Regions from separate parts of the Homo sapiens genome. Here regions 1, 2 and 4 are each linked to region 3. Evidence: promoter capture Hi-C in 16 types of primary human blood cells and fetal thymus (Javierre and others, 2016). All regions are on one chromosome and are shown on one strand. Each heading gives the region's core, a stretch centred on a gene start or on the middle of the fragment in contact. The rest is flanking DNA. Distances are from core to core; before and after follow the strand shown. Region 1 has its middle 22 kb from the start of LINC01133. Region 2 overlaps KCNJ10 (potassium inwardly rectifying channel subfamily J member 10). Region 3 holds the start of FCRL6 (Fc receptor like 6). Region 4 overlaps LOC124904438 (a long non-coding RNA gene).

What was found. Contacts are between HindIII fragments. The CHiCAGO score rates a contact against its expected background, and 5 or more counts as called.
Region 1: a contact is called between a fragment that was not itself captured here and the fragment with the promoter of FCRL6 in region 3, in 5 of 17 cell types (naive B cells, total B cells, megakaryocytes and 2 more). The highest score is 10.8, in naive B cells.
Region 2: a contact is called between a fragment that was not itself captured here and the fragment with the promoter of FCRL6 in region 3, in 2 of 17 cell types (naive CD4 T cells and megakaryocytes). The highest score is 5.7, in naive CD4 T cells.
Region 4: a fragment that was not itself captured here is called in contact with the fragment with the promoter of FCRL6 in region 3 in 12 of 17 cell types (naive CD4 T cells, total CD4 T cells, non-activated CD4 T cells and 9 more); the score reaches 16.7 in naive CD4 T cells.

What each region holds. Positions count from the first base shown.
Region 1 is chr1:159,981,673-159,984,372 of GRCh38, reverse strand. It overlaps a transcript of SLAMF9 not described here. Among named protein-coding and RNA genes, the nearest start is that of LINC01133, 22 kb to the right of the region's middle. The HindIII fragment of the contact is 1,421 bases long and covers 735-2,155 here.
Region 2 is chr1:160,037,566-160,040,265 of GRCh38, reverse strand. It overlaps KCNJ10 (potassium inwardly rectifying channel subfamily J member 10), which reads left to right. Exons shown (of 2, transcript NM_002241.5): 2 at 1-2,700. Among named protein-coding and RNA genes, the nearest start is that of PIGM, 6.9 kb to the right of the region's middle. The HindIII fragment of the contact is 3,750 bases long and covers 1-2,700 here.
Region 3 is chr1:159,801,042-159,803,741 of GRCh38, reverse strand. FCRL6 (Fc receptor like 6) reads right to left here and starts at 1,382. Exons shown (of 10, transcript NM_001004310.3): 1 at 1,287-1,382. The coding sequence starts at 1,317. LOC105371464 (a long non-coding RNA gene) reads left to right here. Exons shown (of 3, transcript XR_922195.2): 1 at 1-1,204; 2 at 1,595-1,794. The HindIII fragment of the contact is 5,270 bases long and covers 1-2,700 here.
Region 4 is chr1:159,945,726-159,948,520 of GRCh38, reverse strand. It overlaps LOC124904438 (a long non-coding RNA gene), which reads right to left. Exons shown (of 3, transcript XR_007066684.1): 2 at 2,069-2,369. Among named protein-coding and RNA genes, the nearest start is that of IGSF9, 1.5 kb to the right of the region's middle. RefSeq lists an enhancer at 2,285-2,785 and a silencer at 2,628-2,795. The HindIII fragment of the contact is 1,462 bases long and covers 542-2,003 here.

The DNA.
Region 1 (2,700 bases), core at 196-2,695, 180 kb before region 3:
CATAGCGTCTTCTGTCTCCAACTCTGCTTTCCTCTCTGCTTCTGTCATCAGGGGGCTGCATCCTGCTTTTCTCTTAGAAGGACTCTTGTGATTACATCAAGCCTACTCTGATAATCCAGGATAATCTCCCAATCTCAAGAGCCTTAATTTAATCACATCTACAAAGTCTCTTTTGCCATATAATAAAACATGGACAGGTTCCAGGGATTAGAATGTGGACATCCTGGGGGGCCATTATTCAGCCTGCAACAGAGGGTGACTTTATTTTCACAAGCATGTAAGGAAAACTCTGAGCTGAGACTGCAGTTTCTCTACTTCTTCCTTACATCATCTGTGTAACTCGGCTCATGCTGCTCTAGAAGAGACCATCTCCCCTGCTCCATCATATCTGCAGCCCTGGCTGCTGCAGGGAAAGGCACTGCCTTTCTTCTCCAGGTGTCTTTTGTTCTTCTTCCGCCCTGGCCCCTTGCTGCCATGCAGGACTCTGCTGGGAGTGACGTGGGTCTCTTTCCCTGAGAGAGCTGAAGATCTGCAAGGAGACCTTCTCCCTGCCTTTTGCTTCGCATTTTGAAGGGAGGGAGGAGACTAGCCAGAACCACTGACCAGGGGAAGCACTCTTATCCTCTTAGAAAGGACCTTAGGAATCATCTATCCCCTCCACCCCATCCCTGCCTTGCCACGAGGATTAATTGCTCTCTAAGTGCCTTGGCCAATGTTGACTTTCAGCCTAAGCTTGACCTCTCAAGCAAGTTGTTTCCTTCCTAACAATAGTATTTCAAGTGAATTCATTAAAACTTCTTAGTTGCAAGTAATAGAAACTAACTTAAATTAACTCAAGCAAAAAACAAACAAAACAAAACAAAAACAAAAAACAAACCAAGGAGTGGTCAGAAATCCACTCCTCGGGGGAATTTGATCTCTTGCTTTTCTTGGCAACTTGAGGACCCTTTTCCTAGGAAAGGGGGACTTTCCCTGTCCCCCTCTGACTTCCAGCACATAATCAGTGATTGTGACTCCAGTCCAGGTCCACTCAATACCCACTTATCATATGTGCTGCATTACAACCAACAGATGAAGAGGCACAGATGGATGCCTCTTTCATCTGGTGAACTGATAGAAGTGCTGTGATGAACCTCCACAGTAGAAGAAAAGAAAAGGATGAAAGACACATGTTGCTAATTGGCCTTAAACCTCCTCTGATGGGAACAGGAGGCAGAAGCTGGTCATGAGGGTAAGTTGATAAGAGAGGAGCCTAACCAGGGTTCTAATGAATGGCCAAGATATTGGGATATAAGCTAGAAACTCTAATGTTGATATGTTTCTTTTTTTCTTTTTTTATTTTTTTGAGACGGAGTCTCACTCTGTCACCAGGCTGGAGTACAGTGGTGCAATCTCAGCTCACTGCAACCTCTGCCTCCCGGGTTCAAGCGATTCTCCTGCCTCAGCCTCCCAAGTAGTTGGGACTACAGGCACGTGCCACCACACCCAGCTAAGTTTTGTATTTTTAGTAGAAACGGGGTTTCACCATGTTGTCCAGGATGGTCTCCATCTCTTGACCTCGTGATCCTCCCACCTCAGCCTCCCAGAGTGCTGGGATTACAGGCGTGAGCCACCGCGCCCAGCCATGTCGTTATGTTTCCTACACACATGTGTGTGTATGCATATGTACCCATATAGACATACTTAACATTACACGATGTACTATGCTAGTGTTGGAGATACAGAAATGACTTTATGCCTACCCTAAAGGCTTCCCTAAAAGACAAAGAATTGTGGGACAGTTTGATAAATGTCATAAGAGATATTAGTAAGTGCTAAAAATAGCACAAAGAGAGGCATGATTTCCTCTGCTTGGGTGTGTCCAGGAAACCTCTATCGAGAAGGGAACATTTGCATGGATCTTAATAGGAATTTAAAGATCACTGGGAGAAGTGTGTGTGTATGAGTGAGTGAGTGTGCGGCAGGAAGGGGTGATGAGAATGGAGAAAGATGTTCCAAAAAGGAGGCGTTATATGTCCACAGGCCTTGATGTGAAGCGGCATTGACGTTTAGACTAGAGTGTAGATAGTTCCATGTGGCTGTCAAGATGGGGCCTTGGGTAGGGAATAAGAGAGTGGACAGTTGAGCACAGGCTGAGTCTCAAGAGACATAAGCTTCTAATTTATCTTGTAAGTAAACAGACATCTTGGAAAGAATGGAAGCAGAGCGTGACAAGATCAGATCTGGACTTTAGAAAGGAGGAGGACTCTAACAGTGTGGAGGATGAATTGAAGGAAGGACAACTAGGGGCAGCCAGATTTGTTGAGAAGCAGAGGCCAAGACAAGATTAGACCTGCAGAGGCATTGTGGGAAACACCACACCTGTGAAGGATGAAGAGCGGGCAGAAGGAGTGGTCAGGAGAGACTTCAGACTGCAGTGCAGGTCAGACACCTGGGAAAGGAGAGCAGGCTGGGAAGAGGATCAGGTAGGATGATCCTCAAACTGTGGTGCAGCTCCAGGATGTCCCCGCCAGGCTTAGTGTCCCAGAACAGAGCTCGCCTCTTAGCGAGGCCTCACATCAGGCACAGTGGCCTGTTTCTAGCCCTGTTTCTGGCACCCTCTGTGCTCAGTCATTGGCTGGGAGCAGCATGGGGCAGTGTGAACACCCAACACAACCAAAATATAGCAGCAGGAGGCTGGAGGCTTCTTGCACCAGGTTC
Region 2 (2,700 bases), core at 47-2,546, 240 kb before region 3:
TGTACAGAGCCTCTGAGAATTGGTGATGCTTTGTTAAGGTTTGGGCAGGAGCAGAACTCTGTGGCTGGCAGCCACTATTCTCAGTTACACCTCCCAGTGCCCTTCTGAAAAGTGCCAGCTATTTCATTAGGCAATGCTGGAAGGAAATGAAATTATACCTTCTGATCAAATAACCATGGCTTCCCTCAGCCATTCCTGAGACTTGGTATAAAATGAAGAAATCAGTGTCATCTCTACTCTCCTCTGCCATGAGGCCATTTTCAGACAAGTTAAAAAGTAGACTTTAAGAGATCAAACTCAGCCTATTCCTTGTTCCCTGGTGGGGTCTGTGGTAAGGGTCAGGGAAGGGCATATAGGCACCAGAGCTTTATCCAAAGCCCCAAATCCCTAGAGTGCTTTCTGGTCTCACTTTGGTACCAAGGAAGCCTCACATAGTGGTACTGCATAGTCCCACTATAAGTCAAGTTGCAGTTTAAGGTGGTCTCAGCCAATTGTTACAAGCTACAGAATATATACATGCATCTATGTACAGAGCCTTGCAGAGAAACACAAAATTTTGAGGCTAGACCCATGATCACCACCAACTATAATTGCACAAGGTCTTGTTATATTGATCTCTCCTCGAACTCAACTAACTATATCTTGAAAACAAAGACCCTTCGGTGTCCATCTACAGTAAACCCCACCATTACCTTCTAGTTGGCATAAAAACAAGAACCACAAAAACTTGAAAAATCTGAAACAGAGAACAGAAGGCCAAGAGCCAGCTTCTGCGTTCTCAACTTTATTCAACATTAGACTTACCTTATTTCTTTCAGTGTGTAGGGACAAGATGTACTGCTGTGTGTGTGTGTGTGTGTGTGTGTGTGTGTGTGTGTGTGTGTGTGTGTGTCTATACCTTCCTATCCATTGCCAAGTTAACCTCCATCTGGTTTATTTGGCCATGCTATGCTTTCTTCCCATTCCCCTGCTGTCTATTCTAAGCCCCCAGACTCAAGCCTCTAGACTCTTGGATGAAACAGTGAGAAGAAAACATTTTCTGACTTACCCTTTTGGAATCTCCTCCATTATTACCCAGGCTTTGCTTTAAGTTGCACTTTAAATCACACTGTCCTATTAATGCGATCTGGCATCTTCTCCCACAAGCCCCCTACAGGGAACAACTACCCCCTACCTTAACTCTAAATGGTTCTTTAGACTATAGTCTGTCTCCTCTGACCTGAAATCCTCTTTTAGGCAATAGGCCGAGCTTTAGAAGCAGCCAGGTCTGGTGAGAAATGGGCCCCCATACCAACTGTGGACTTGGAATATCAGCAGAGTAGTAGGCACAGTTGTAAAAAGGGGAGATTTCGGTAGGCACAGGTGTAAAAAGGGGAGATTTCAGAAGACGGGCGAAACAACTGATGGGGGAAGATACCTGGGGTGAGAAGATGAGAAAGAAATGATGCTGAGGGACCTAGTGAAATCAATGAAACTCTTGAGTCTTGCTTAGGCTCGCAAACAAGAAGTGGGGAGGCTTGGGAAATTAGGATATGACATATATGAAAGGTTTATCTAAGAAGAAAGAAACAGAGATAATATATATATAGAAAGATGTATATAGATGTATATATGCCCAAATATATTGAATGTACAGAAAGGAAATATTCAGAGACTTTAGCATTGGGGGCAGATATCTTGGCCTGGTTATGGGGTAGGACACCCAGATTTTCAGACTTACAATCAGTGGTCCTGGTTTCAACATGGAAGTGAGATAGCTGATGAAGGATTTCAAGTCTGGAAATGGGAAAGGGAGGGGTAGAAGTTCCTTTTCAGAAATAAAGAGGCATTCATGAAGGCTTTTGTTGAATCCTATGCTACTGATAGGACCAGGAAGAGAGGAACTCGGAGGACAATAGGGAGGGGAAGTCTTGGAAAATCTACCACTTACACTGTGTGTCCCCATCCCCAGCAGCGTCCTGCCACTGTAGCGCCTTTTTAAAATAAATAAAATAAAATAAAGCACCATTTTGTTTCCCTTTCATGAAGTACACTGTATTTCCGTCTTCCACAGGGGTGGGAGCTGCTATTGCTCTAGCCCCTGAAATCAAACTCAGGAGCTGAACACTTTGGTGTATGGGAGGCACTAATGGGAAGCCTCAACCCTGGAATCCAAATGCCAGGACTAATAGCTGTTAGGCTGAAGATCTCCCAAGGTCAAGGCCCAGCCTTTTGTGTGGCTGCAAGCAGCCCAAAGAGAAAGCCATGGATTCCAGAAGAGTTCCAATCCTGGCATTTGGGCATGGAGGGTGATGCTTTGGTTTTGATGCTTCTGAATGAAAATGAGGAGTGGGGTTACCAGCTGCTCTAGGGGATGGTGAAGTTCCATGAGAGGCTTCCGAAATCTCTGCAATGTGCTTCACCCCATTATTCCCCCAACCCCTGTCAGCCTAATAAAATCATCCAGTAGTTTCCCTATAAGGTCTGAGCAGAGAAAGAAAGCCAGTTATACTATTGCTACAAGTCCAGGACACTGTGCCCTCTCCATGGCTGCTGCCCTGGTCCTTTATTCTTGCTAGCTAACCTAGTTCACTTGTACAGTAACACACTACCTTTGCTGGAAAGTTAGCATGGGTCTCCAGGCTCAGTAATGGCCAACTCTACTGATGCAGAAGTATTTAGGGATGTTTTTTCCATTCATTGCACTAAAGACTAAACCAG
Region 3 (2,700 bases), core at 133-2,632:
TCCCTTCCTCTCCTCATTTGCTGTCTGTCATCCTCGTCCTGGGTTCCAAGCTGGAACACTCTCAGACTGTATCTAGACAAGTCCAAGGGCTGTTCCTTTTACAAGGTAGTGCCGGTAGTGCCATTTGCCCCTGGGAGTCTTCTGCCTGGAGTATATCCAGGCATTAGGCTATCCTGTCCCCGCCTCAGTGTGAGCATTAGACCTTTTCATTTGTCCAAATGGCCATTCATAGAACACACGAGTAGCATGCTATGCTGGAGAAGGAACATTGAGTGGAAGGGGCATTTTCCTCACAGGGTCAAATTCTCACAAACTCTGTCCAGGAAGAGGTTATATTTAGGAACAGTTTTGCTTTTCTAGTTCAAGGAATACAAATAGCAAGCAAGCTATTGGGACCAAGAATTAAACAAAAAGTAGGTCCACTTGGAAACTGTAAAGTGAAACAAAATATATGCCAAATTATTTCTTTTAGGTATAAGGGGGGTGACACTGGCTGAGACTGAGCTGGGTCTGGGGGAGCCCAGTGACCCTCTGCGTGCAATCCTCTACCCTTAGACCAGCTCTCTTAGTTACAAGTAGCCTGCATGAGAAGAAATGGAGAGAAGAGAGAGAGAGACATGGATCAGACAATGGAGTTGATTCTTCAAACCAGCCCCATGGATCTGAAACAGCTCCCAACAGAGAGAAGATGTAGGCGGAAGAGAGACAGTCAATTTGAAAAGGGCTTTGGTTACTCAGAGCACAGGCCTTTCAACCAGGTGAGAGGTCTGGCCATTGTTACCTGGTTCTAAGAAAATGCTGAGGCTCCATAAAAATATGTCACCCTGTAAAATTCCACCTCCCATTGCTGAGCAAAATGCCTGGGACTGTTTCCCCTCATTTCCCTGACTCCTTCCCTGTTGCCCCCAGCAGCCTCCTTCCCTCCTGCAACCTCCATTTCCTTTTGAGACAGCTCTGATTAGTATTTTAACCTGATGTCACAAGGTAGAAATGTCATTGGGAAGTTAGGGGACTTTGTAATGTGATTTTCTGCCTCCCTAATTTATCTCTGACATATCAAAGGGCTGCGCTGCCAAGGACCCAGGACTACGGGGTAGGAAACACTGAGGAGTTTCTCCTACCCCAGTGCCCATCTCTCCCAAGCATGCCCAGGTGCACACACCTGTCTTGAGCTCCAGCCACAAACCCACTGGAATTGGGAAAGGTAAGATGAGGAACTTGGTGTCTCAGGGATGACTTACGGTCCTTAGTGCTCCAAGAGGGGATGCCCATGCTCGTTGACTTACCAAAGAGCAGCACAGCCGTCCAGAGCAGCATGGGGCCTGTTCTGGCACAGCGGAGGGAACACAGGTCAGAAACAGGTCAGGGCGAAGCCGGCAGAGAGCAACCAGGCCTCAGGACCGAAGGTGGGTGGGTGGCCTGAGCTGGGTGGTGCTATAGCTTGATAGCCAAAATAGGAAGTGGAAAAGAAACTTACAAAGCTCTAATTGATATTTCCTCTTTGGTTGAAGAAGTATTACATGAATAAATTTTCCTGAACACTAAGTATGAAGGAGTCGGTAAATCACTAATAAATCCCTGACATTTTCTGCAGCTTCAACAAGCCTATGCCAGGGAACTAGGATGGAACATGGTTATGGGACACCTCCATTAGAAAGGTCCAGAGACTGCCCGAATTTGCTTGGCTTCAGCGTCATTCAGCCTGGGAGACAGCGCAGCACTGTAAAACTAAGATCATCTACCCCTTGACCACCGAGTGACCTCCCAGCTTCCAAGGAGCTCCTGTCTCCAGAGGTAAATGTGTGTGGATGCTGCAATGCGATGGAGAAGTGGAGCCCTGAGGATGCTTCACAGGATCCTCAGTTCAGGAGGGAATCAGACATCGATGAGTCTGGAGTAGAACACAGATGGAGCTTCGGCATCTGAGGCTTTTAAGACTGTCAGTATGATTTTGAGAACTATTCCTTAAAAGACACCATTAAGAGAAGGAACAGGCAAGCTGTGGTGTGATGAGATAGTTTAAATACATGTAGCTGACAAAGGGCCCACAGAAGAAATATAAGAATTTCTGCAAGTCAGTAAGAAAAGGACAGACAACATACTAGAAAAATGGGCAAAAATAATTGGATAGGTACTTCACAGAAGCAGATATCCACGTGTCAAATCAACATAGCAAAAGGAGCTAGACATCATAAATCACCGTGGAAATGCAAATTTAAACCATAATAAGATACCACTACACCTTCCATAAGAATAAGGGAGTGATACCAGCTGAGACTGAGCTGGGTCTGGGGGAGCCCGTGACCCTCCCCATGCAATCCTCTACTGAGTATTGGTGAGGATGTGAAGAAACTAGAACTCTTGTACACCACTAGTGGGAATATAAATTGGTACAGTCACTAGAAAATGGCTTGGCAGAATCTACCAAAACTAAACACAGGGATCCCTGATGGCTCAGCATTTTCACTCCTGGGTAAATGTCAAACAGAAATGTATACATATAAGCCTGAAAAAACATATACAAGAGTGCTCATAGCAGCATCATTTGTAATAGATAAAAACTGGAAATTATTCAATGTTCCCTCAACAGAAAAAGAGGTCACACATTCTCATCTCCTCTGTGGACAGAACATGGGAGTTCACGGTGAAACACAGAGTCAGGCAAAATACTAGGAAGCATTTTCATTTTCTTGTTTCTTT
Region 4 (2,795 bases), core at 23-2,522, 140 kb before region 3:
AAGACAGAACCAATAAGATAGATAGATACAGATATAGAAATATGAGATGGGATTTATTAGGGGAATTGGCTTACATGATGGTGGAGGCCAAGTCCTACAACATGCACAAAGAAGGCCCTGGGATGGCAAAAGTGTGGCTCAGTCCAACTCCAAAAGCCTCACAACCAGGGAGGCCAATGGTATAACTCACAGTCCCAAGTCTGGAGAGCCTGGAGTTTTGATGTTCAAAGGCAAGAGGAGGAGAATACCCCAGCTCTGAGAGACAGAGAGAGAGACAGAGAGAGAAAAGAAGAAGAAGGAGAAGGAGGAGGAGGAGGAGGAGGAGGAGGAGGAAAAGCAGCAGCAGAGGAGGAGGAGGAGAAGGAGGAGGAGGAGGAAAGAGGAAAGAAGAAAGCAGGAGAAGGAGAAGAAGGAGGAAGAAGAGGAGGAGGAGGAGGAGGGGGAGAGAGAGAATATTTTCTGATATCCTTGTCAGCAATTTGAAAATATGGGGGCTGCCTGATACTTAGGTTAGGTGGAATCCTCGTTGGTTGAATAAGCTTTCCCAGAGAGTAATGACTATGAATCAAGGACAACCTAGAGGAAAGTCTTTTGTTTTGAACCTCAGGGACTATTTTTTAAATCAGCTTTCACTCCTGGCACAGTGAGGGAACAAGTTATAGGGCTAGGTTCCTTTTCTTAACAAAAAATCTCCAATATACATATAAATCAGACAAAAAATGGCAATAACAATAAAAGTCACAAAATAAGTTTCCAGAAAAAAAAGGCCATATCATAAACTTTTAAAAATTGAAAACCATTTTAAATGTCATTTAACAGAAAGTTATTTTAATGTCTAAATGAGATTAGTTTATCCTCAAGAAACCACTGGAGACAGCAGTTTAGATCAAAGGTGTGGCCAATTCTAACAGCGGGGAGGGAGATCCTTCCCAATGATTGGTAAAGATCCAAAGACTAAAAAACACTTGGCTCGGCCGGGGGCAGTGGCTCACACCTGTAATCCCAGCATTTTGGGAGGCCGAGGTGGGTGGATCATGAGGTCAGGAGTTCAAGACCAGCCTGGTCAAGATGGTGAAACCCCATCTCTACTAAAAATACAAAAATTAGCCAGGCATGGTGGTGGCCGCCTGTAATCACAGCTGCTTGGGAGGCTGAAGCAGGAGAATCGCTTGAACCCGGGAGGTGGAGGTTGCAGTGAGCCGAGATTGCACCACTGCACTCCAGCCTGGGCGATAGAGTGAGACTCTGTCAAAACAAAAAAACAAACAAACAAAAAACCCGCTTCACTCTTTTACCATTTCTTCTAGCCTTGCTTCCATGCTGCATTCATTAACATGTTTCCATTATAGTCTTATCAATAGATCAGGGTATTATGTTGAAATGCATTGTTGAAAAGCTGCTACTTTGGGACTATTTGCAGGAGGGATGGTGGGAGAGACTGGCCCACTGCTCCTGCCTCTTCCCTTCCATCTCAGTCACCCAAAAGCACTAAAACCTTTACACCTGGAAGAACTGTCCAGCAGGCAGAGCTTACTAAGGATGGAATGGGTACAACAGTAGTGCTGAGCTTCCTGGCCCAGGATGTAATGAGATAGGGGCTTGGATGACTACATGGAGAAATGATGTGCCAGGGATTCTGGGGCCAAGTAGTGCTTAGGCCCATCCTGGAGGTTCTCTCATGATGCTGCAGCAGTGATTCTGTGAGTCTGATGCCTGGTGCACTCAGTTTGAGTCTTAGTACTTCGGATTGGGATGAGATCAGCACGTTGCTTTCATGGAAGGCTTCCAAGGGAGCCAACTGAATGGGAAGGACCTGGACAGGCAATGTTGCTTAAGCCGACCCAGCATCCCTACAGCATCACCAGGCTGAGGAGGTGGAATCTCTGAGGGGCAAGATATGCAAGATATCTTTGTGTCTGAGGGCGAAGCCTCCAAGGGAGTAGGTTTGATGAAGTTTGGGTTGGGTCTCAATCCAGCTCTGCCATAACCTAGTTGGGAAAGCTTGGGCCAAGTTACTTCATCTCCCTGAGCCTCAGTTTTCTCATTAGTCAAAGGGAGCTCTACTTACTTCGCAGGGTTTCTGTGAAGGTTACACAAGAGTTATAAAGCATCTAGTCCAGGGTCTGGCACCCTGCATGGGTCCAGTAAGTGATCTTGTATTTCATTCCTCCCTTTCAATCTCCCGTGTCAGGATATCTGTCGTTTCTCCCCTCTGGGCCTGTTTCTCTGGGTCGTTGGTGCCAGAGCTGCCTTGGGAGCTGACTTGGCAACCCCACGCTCAGAGCACAGCCTTCCTCAGCTGCACACGGTGGGAGGCGCCTGGGCAAGATTTGGGAGCTCGCCAATGCAGACAGGTATTTCCAGTCCTGCTAGAGAAGCAATGGGTGGAGGTAGAAATGGGGATGGGGGAGGAGATCGGATGAGCCCGGGACCTGGGTGGATCCCCTGGGAGGAGGGCGGGGAGTCATGCTCCCCGCCTGGTTCTCCTACCCCCAGGCTCAGATTTCAACCCTCGCTGCCGCCTCTGTGGCGCGCCCGTTCGGGGAGCGGAGAGGGTCGCCCGTAGGTTCCGAAAGAAGGACGGCGTACCAGTAGCCTGGCAAGGGGCCAGCTCCCGCAGCCCTGGAGCGCGAGCCGGACCCTGCTGCCCCTCTTGCTGGCGGCGGGAAGCGGCCCACCGGCCTTTCCACGCTTGGCTGTGCAGAGGTCCACGAGGGGGCGACCTGAGCCCACGTGCAGCCGAGCTCTTCCCTCCTGAAACTACAACTCCCAGGCCGCTCAGGGGTCCCGCCCGC